2 separate regions of the Homo sapiens genome follow, and region 1 is linked to region 2. Evidence: promoter capture Hi-C in human tissues and cell types (Jung and others, 2019). All regions are on one chromosome and are shown on one strand. The core of a region is centred on a gene start or on the middle of the fragment in contact, and the rest is flanking DNA. Distances in the headings are between cores, read along the strand shown. Region 1 overlaps EFHC1 (EF-hand domain containing 1). Region 2 holds the start of TRAM2 (translocation associated membrane protein 2).

Region 1 (4,259 bases), core at 382-2,881, 140 kb before region 2:
GTAGGGGAATAGCATCCCTGCTGGGATGTAAGTATGGAAGAGGGATTAAACGTTTTATCTTAAGTGTGAGTTTACAAAAATAGCACTACTTCTATTAGCAGATATGAGCCTAAAATTTTTTGTGTAGCTCATATATTTTTGGTAAATGATACTTGCTATATTCTAGGAAAGCTTACCATCTAAAGAATTTCTGAAATGAAACCATTTTTAAATGAAAAAACCTCTTCTATATGTAAAAAGTCCTCTATTTCGTAAGTTTGGATTTTTTAATACAAAGGAAACTTTTATTAAAGTTACATGCATAGAGGATATAGGTGGCCTTTCTTTACTACAAAGTGTAGGAATTAGGAAGTCAATTCCAAATTTGTCTTAGTTAAAAAAATATTTCTAGCAGCAAAGATATAGTTTCTGAAGTATTTTATGTCCCTATTCCAGGATACCTAGTGCCATATGTGACTAATTTTTACCATGCACTGAGCTCCTATGAATCCATTATTGTTTTCATTTAGTAGTTTGTTTAACAGATATTTATTTGCATGCCTGCTTTGTTCCATGCACTGTTCTAGGTGCCAGATGTTTTCAGGAAGGTACTTGATATTTTTCAGATGACTATGACAAGCTAATAGTGCACCATTTCTCCTTTCCTTGCATGTTATAGGTACTTGCCCCTATAGAGGTTCCAATCTTGTTGGAGGAGATAAGCAATAGCAAATAAATAGATTGGTTATATGTCAGATGATGATAACAGCAATGGAGGAAAATAAAGCTGAGTAAAGGGAATGGAAGTTGAGGGGCTCTTTATAGAGGCGGATCAGAGAATGCCTCAGTGATAAGATGACATATGAATAGAGGCCTGAAGGAAGTAAAGAAAGGAGCCATGGCATCAGTGCCATTCCAAAGCAATAGAGAAAAATAGCTTCAAAAGTAGAGGTGCTAGACCATCTTTGAGATATTCTCCCGTTCCAACATATTTTTATCTCTTTGCTTTTTAGGTGTCTGAGGTCTTATATATCATAGGCAGTTTCACAATTGTACCAACAGTGAGAAATGATAAAATGTTATCTAAACATAAATGTATTAACAATTATTTTTACAGTTGTGTTTTCATAACAATTATTTTTACAGTTGTGTTTTTATGGGCAATTTGAACATTTGCAAGTTAATCACTGAGCGTTTGACCTAATCTATTTATAGTCGGTTCTCATTATTGACAGTAATTAGGACTATAAAGTCACCACAAACACTGAATTAGTGAATACTGAACCACTAGTCTTAGAGGAAATACAGGGTTAGGTTCCCACTAATCTCTGGCCACATTTTTGTCAACTGATCAATACATAAGTTTGATTCATGTATGTTTCTGTTTAAAGACACCTTATTTAATATATACGGTTGATTCATTAACATTAAACTCACACCCAACAGCACTATAACTCACGTCTGAACAAAGCTTATCTAAGACATGCATTTTCTCCATGAGGTGTGTTACAGCCTTCTTGTGCTTAGGAACACTAAATAGCACTTCATCACTAGGCACTGGGACCCTTTAAACAGCAAAATCACCAACAAAAAACACAAAAATGCAAAAAATCTGGCACCTTCATGTATATGTATATGTATGTGTATATGTATCACATTTTCTTTTTCCAGTTTACCATTGATGGGCATTCAGGTTGATTCCATGTCTTTGCTATTATGAATAGTGCTGCGATGAACATACTTGCGGGTATGTCTTTATGGCAGAATGATTTATATTCCTTTGGGTATATACCCAATAATGAGATTCCTAGGTCAAATGGTAGTTCTGTTTTCAGGTCTTTTAGGAATCACTACACTGCTTTCTACAATGGTTGAACTAATTTATACTCTCATCACCAGTGTATAAACATTTCTTTTTCTCCACAACCTTGACAGCACCTGTTATTTTTTTACTTTTTAATAATAGCCATTCTGACTGGTGTGAGATGATATTTCATTGTGGTTTTGATTTGCATTTCTCTAATGATAGTGATGTTGAGCTTTTTTTTCATATGGTTATTGGCCATGTGTATGTCTTCTTTTGAGAAGTGTCTGTTCATGTCCTTTGCCCACTTTTTAATGGGGTTCTTTGCTTTTTTTCTTGTAAATTAAAGTTTCTTATAGATGGTGCATATTGGACCTTTGTCAGATGCATAGTTTGCAAATATTTCTTTCCCATTCTTTAGATAGTCTTTTTACTCTGTTGATGCTTTCTTTTGCTCTGCGGAAGCTCTTACGTTTAATTAGATACCATTTGTCAATTTTTGCTTTTGTTGTGATTGCTTTTGGTGTCTTTGTCATGAAATCTTTGCCCATTCCTATGTTTAGAATAGTGTTGCCTTGGTTGTCTTCCAGGGTGTTTATAGTTTTGGGTTTTACATTTAAGTCTTTTATCTATCTTGAGTTGATTTTTATATCTGGTGTAAGATATATGGCTAGCATATGGCTAGCAGGTTATCCCAGCACCTTTCCCCATTGCTTATTTTTGTCAACTTTGTTGAAGATCACATAATTATAGGTGTGTAGCCTTATTTCTGAGCTCCCTATTCTATTCCATTGGTCTATGTGTCTGTTTTTGTACCAGTACTGTACTGTTTTGGTTACTGTAGCCCTGTAGTATAGTTTGAAGGCAGGTAACATGATGCCTCCAGCTTTGTTCTTTTGCTTAGAATTGCCTTGACTATTCAGGCTCTTTTTGGGTACCATTGAATTTTAAAGTATTTTTTTCTAGTTCTGTGAAGAGTGTCACTGGCAATTTGATAGGAATAGCATTGAATCTGTACATTGCTTTGGGCAGTATGGTGACTGTAAAGATATTGATTTTTCGTATCCATGAGCATGTAATGTTTTTTCATTTGCTTGTGTTATCTCTGATTTCCTTAAGCAGTGTTTTGTAATTCTCATTGTAGAGATCTTTCATCTCCCTGGTTAGCTGTATTCCTAGGTATCTTATTCTTTTTGTGACAGTTGTAAATGGGATTGTGTTCCTGATTTTACTCTCAGCTTGGCTGTTGTTGGTGTATAGGAGTGCTAGTGATTTTTGTATGTTGATTTTGTGTCCTAAAATTTTGCCGAAGTTGTTTATTAACTTAAGGAGTTTTTGGGATGAGGCTCTGGAGTTTTCTAGATATAGAATCATGTTTTCTCCAAACAGGGATAGTTTGACTTTCTCTCTTCCTACTTGGATGTCCTTCATTTCTTTCTCTTGACTGATTGTTCTGGCCAAGACTTCCAATATTGTCTTGGATAGAAGTTGTGGAAGAGGGCATCCTTTTCTTGTGTCAGTTTTCAAGAGGAATGCTTCCAGCTTTTCCCTGTTCAATATAATGTTGGCTGTGGGTTTTTCATAGATGGCTCTGATTATTTTGAGGTGTGTTCCTTTAATACCTAGTTTATTTATTTATTTATTTTATTATTATACTTTAAGTTATGGGGTACATGCGCACAACGTGCAGGTTTGTTGCATATGTATACATGTGCCATGTTGGTGTGCTGTACCCATTAATTTGTCATTCAATTAGGTATATCTCCTAGTGGTATCCCTCCCCACACCCCCCACCCTATGACAGGCCCCAGTATGTGATGTTCCCCACCCTGTGTCCAAGTGTTCTCATTGTTCAATTCCCACCTATGAGTGAGAATATGCAGTGTTTGGTTTTCTGTCCTTGCGATAGTTTGCTCAGAATGATGGTTTCCAGCTTCATCCATGTCCCTACAAAGGACATGAGCTCATCATTTTTTATGGCTGCATAGTATTCCATGGTGTATATGTGCCACATTTTCTTAATCCAGTCTATCATTGTTGGACATTTGGGTTGGTTCCAAGTCTTTGCTATTGTGAATAGTGCCGCAATAAACATATGTGTGCATGTGACTTTATAGCAGCATGATTTATAATCCTTTGGGTATATGCCCAGTAATGGGATGGCTGGGTCATATGGTATTTCTTGTTCTGGATCCTTGAGGAATCACCACACTGTCTTCCACAATGGTTGAATTAGTTTACATTCCCACCAACAGTGTAAAAGCATTCCTATTTCTCCACATCCTCTCCAGCACCTGTTGTTTCCTGACTTTTTAATGATCTCCATGCTAACTGGCATGAGATGTGTGGTTTTGATTTGCATTTCTCTGATGGCCAGTGATGATGAGCATTTTTTCACGTATCTGTTGGCTGCATAAATGTCTTCTTTTGAGAAGTGTCTGTTCATATCCTTCGCCCACTTTTTGATGGGGTTGTT
Region 2 (4,095 bases), core at 1,596-4,095:
GGTTATGAGGCGTCTCCCCAGGCTTTACTCTGAGTGTGAAGATGCCCACATTTGTTTCTCTGTGGTACCTACAGTATCCAGGACGCTTCTGCTCTCATTTGATAGAGGCAGCAGTTCCAAACTCCCCCTCCCCACCCCCAGGAATACTTATCTCTGTGGAGAGTTAGTTAGTCGGTGGGTAAAGACAGTGAGGCCCCCACCATGTGCCCAGCACAGAAGAACACAAGACCTTCTTACTGGAGGCTTAGGGCAAAGCCCTCTTTCTCCCAGAGAAGCACAGACTGATGATCTCACAAAGTACCTCCAAAAGAAGGAGACACCTGCCCTGTAGGTCCTGTAGGTTCAAGGTGCTATGGGAAGAAGTGATGGGCTTGGCAGGAAAAGGGGGCCTGTAGGCATTTCAACCAGGGGCCTTGCTACACTCCCCAATACAAGCCTAAGGGGGAGGAAGAGTAGTTTTGTTTGTTGTTTTTCTCGTCTTGGGCCTTTCTCTTTCACCAGATACTGGAAGTAACAGCTCTTAACACCTTTCAACTTTTAGAGTGGCAGGTTTAATGCACAGGACTTTCCATAAGACTAGAGACCCAGGGAAGGAGGTAGGTACCAAACTCAAATGCTGGCAGCCCTTTCTGAGCAAAGATAAAACAGGGAGGGCCACAAACCCTAACAAATGCTAGAAATATGACGGAGAGAGCCACAGGCTATGCGAGAAACTTCGTCGCTGCAGCCTGTGGCTTTGAGGTTTACAGCTGTCACGTGTATCTTTCCAGCCACACCCTCCAAGGCTGGGGACACGCACTTGGAGGCCTCTTAGAATGGAGGACAGCAAACAGACAGCAGAGAATGCGCTGGGCAAAGGAAATTCTGTTATTTTGTTAAGCTATTATTATGATAAATAATCACAGGGCTCCAGGCGCAAGAGACTTTTTCATGTTGGTAGGAGATGTTATGGCTTTTGTTGCTGATATGATCTCAGTTAAACCTTACAACCACCCTGTGACGAAGACCAGTTTTATGAACGTCTTTAATGATGGGGAAACTGAGGCTGCAGTCAGTTTTCAGTCAGACTAGTCACAGAACAGGGACTGAGACACACGGATATGACTCTGTGTGACACCACACACTTCCAGGGGAGAACCCAGAACAAGGTGGAGCAAGCCCGACCCAATATACCACTAGAGAGAGCTGTGAGAGGGAGAGGAAGGAGAGAGGGACTGAACTAAAGGAGCACTATCAAAAAGTGGAGTGGAGACCCCAGTCCTAGCACCACCGTTTATTTCCTACAGACCCTAAAGCTCAGCCACGGACACATTCATTCATCCAACCCTGACTTGGCCACCACAAGAACGTTCCCAGCTTGAGGGCAGCTTCGCCAGCCAATTAGGGCCCTTGTCATTCGTAGAGATACAGGGAACCCGAGACAGAGGGACAGGGAAGGAAATTTAGCCAGGCAAGCCATCCTCCATCTCCAAGGAAGTTTGTAAATGATCACAGCTTCCTAACCCAACCGTGAGAATGCAATAAGCAAGCTGACGCAGAAGGGAGGACAAGGAGTCTCAGGAACCAGAGGAGACCACGGTGAGAGTGAGGGGAATGTCGCTCACATATCTCACTTCTGAGACAAGATATACCGCAACAAACCCATGCCAAGCTTCCTCCAGTTCTTCCCACTTTTGAATATCACATTTTTCTTGCTCTGCAAGAGTAGGGAATCCTTCCCATCAGTCTTGTGAATTCTGACCCCTTGCTGGCTTTCTACAACTCCCTGCCTGGGAGGCCGACACCAGGACATTGCTGTTGGGGGTGGGATCCCCATCCTCTGCCCCCCACTCCTACACTATAAGAGAATCAACTTTCCCCAAAAAGTGGAGGGTATCCCTGTCTCTCTTCTTGTCTCTGTAAAGGGGGTGAAGCTCTGGGTCGCCGCAGATGGATCTAAAGGGACAGTTCACGGAGTGGTAAAGGATATCCAAAAATTGGCCTTCTAGAGCACAGCAAAAAAGTGGGAGCGAGACGAGAGCAGAAGGCCACTGCTGGGATGGGGCCAGGGCCACACGTGAACATCCGAGCACGTTCCAGAGCTGAGATGCAAAACACCCAGAAAATCACATAGGAAGTGGAAAAGGTTCTGGGTCTCTCCCACTGGAAAAGCCCAGAAGAGCTAGTGGCCACCCCTTGGGGCAAGAGGGGGTTGTGCAATGACTGCGGGTCTGGGAGTCTCTGGGCTTGGCTCCTGGACGCCAGAAAGGGAACCCCACGCGTCAAGCCATGGTGGCAGCGCGGCGGTTGGTTCGAGGCCAGGCTGGGGTTTCAGGGCTGCAGACAGAGCTGCAGGATACGATGAGTGCCCAAGGGGGCGGCAGAGCATGGCATGGCTGGCACGGCGCGGAGCTGGGGGTGCTGTCTGGGCTGGCCGGGGTACAGGCCGGAGGGGTACAGTGCACAAAGCCGGGGTGCAGATAACGTACACGGCAGCCAGGAGCCTCCGATCAGAGGAGGGCCCGCTGACCTGCAGGGGTGTGCCGGGCGGTGCACGACAGGGGGCACTGTCCCTCCAGCTCCCTCCTCCCCAGGCTCTCACCTCGAACATAAGCCCGATGAGGACGCAGAGCACCAGGCAGAAGCCGATGTCCGCATGGTTGTGGATGACGAACTCCTGGCTGAAGAGCGGGTAACTTTTCGTCCTCCTGCGGAAAGCCATGGCAGCGGGCGCGCAGCGGCCGGCGGGGCCCGCACCCTGCGCTCACGAACCGCAGCGCAAACTTCTCCAGCACCGGCCCGGTCCGCCCGCCGGCCCGCCGCCCGCTCTCCCACAGCCGCTCGCCCGCCCAGCGCGGAACAACTTCGGGGCCCGCCCCCTTCCTCCGCCCGCCCCCGGCCGCCCGTAACCGCCCCCGGCCGCAGCCCCCGCCCAGCCCCCGCCCAGCCCGCGGCCCGCACTCGGCGCGCCTGGCCCCGCCCCCCGCGGGCTTAACCCTCTAGCCGCTGGGCACGCGCGGGCTACCGGGGCGGAGGCGTACGGGGGCGGCGAGCGGGGCTCGGCTCCTCCTCGTCCCGCGCCAGCGCCGCGCCCGGCCGCATTCTCGGGGCCCGAGGCTCAGCCGCTCGCGGTGGAGAAAGCAGGCCGCGGAGGAGGCGGGCGCCCAGGCCTGCCCGGACAGGAAGTGGGCCCAGCTTTCCCACTCCTCGCTCCGCTCCTTCCTCCGCGGGAAGGGCAGGCCCCGGAGGCAGCGAGCGCCCCGGGGGTGGCCGGGCAGCCGGATGCTCCCGGGGTTGCGGGCTGTGGCCCCGGGGGCTGAGGGCGGCGCGGGTGCGGCGGAAGCAGGGAAGCCGCGAACCGGCCTTCTGGCTGGCCACAGCGCCCTGCACGGACGATCAGTGAATGGAGATTACTCAAGTATTTATCGAGAACTTGCAGTGGGCTAGGCACAGTTCAGGTAGATCAACAAACCGAAAGACCCTGCCCTAGGGGAGCTTTCGCTCCAATGCGGGGAGAGGGTGGATGATTGCAGTTTTGCCCAGTAATTTTTGGGACCCTCATGCCACCATTAATTAGCTACACACATTTCACCGAAAGTCTACCTTACATATTAATCAGAAGAAGTGGAAGAATAAACACAGAAGAAGCAAAAAAGGAAGGAACTTTCTCACTGAAAGTTTCTATTTAATATTAAGTCTTAAAAGTACTCCTGGAAGGACAAAAGGTGTTCTTAATAAATTATATTCGCAAATATTGGATTTAATCCTACCAGTAATGAAGCAGTCAGTTACTTTCTAGATGTGCAGAAATACGTAATGAACAAAAAAAACTAATTCCTATTCCATTTTTTATTAGGTCCACAGTTATTTCACTTCTAAATAAATATGGTTTTTTAAAAGTGGCACGCGGTGGAATGTAATTGAGACAGGATGGAGTTCCTAGAGAAATTTTACTTCCTCAATCTGCACTCCACCTTACTTAAAATACAGTCTTGGGTCTGTAATTCCCTTATCTGACTCTCAAGGAAATGACAAAGTAATGCCTAGATTGGACTAAACCTCATTTAACTTCAAGGCTGACCTTTCTCAAAGTTGAACCTTCGTCTTGTGAGGAAC

What was found. Contacts are between HindIII fragments. The study calls those that stand out against the background at their distance.
Region 1: a fragment that was not itself captured here is called in contact with the fragment with the promoter of TRAM2 in region 2 in 2 of the 25 tissues and cell types used here (H1 embryonic stem cells and adrenal gland).

Annotation. Positions count from the first base shown.
Region 1 is chr6:52,438,878-52,443,136 of GRCh38, forward strand. All of the region lies in intron 3 of EFHC1 (EF-hand domain containing 1), which reads left to right. Among named protein-coding and RNA genes, the nearest start is that of EFHC1, 21 kb to the left of the region's middle. The HindIII fragment of the contact is 6,132 bases long and covers 1-4,259 here.
Region 2 is chr6:52,574,215-52,578,309 of GRCh38, forward strand. TRAM2 (translocation associated membrane protein 2) reads right to left here and starts at 2,846. Exons shown (of 11, transcript NM_012288.4): 1 at 2,582-2,846. The coding sequence starts at 2,701. TRAM2-AS1 (TRAM2 antisense RNA 1) reads left to right here and starts at 2,988. Exons shown (of 3, transcript NR_103446.1): 1 at 2,988-4,095. RefSeq lists an enhancer at 252-301 and silencers at 652-701, 2,559-3,418. The HindIII fragment of the contact is 6,429 bases long and covers 1-4,095 here.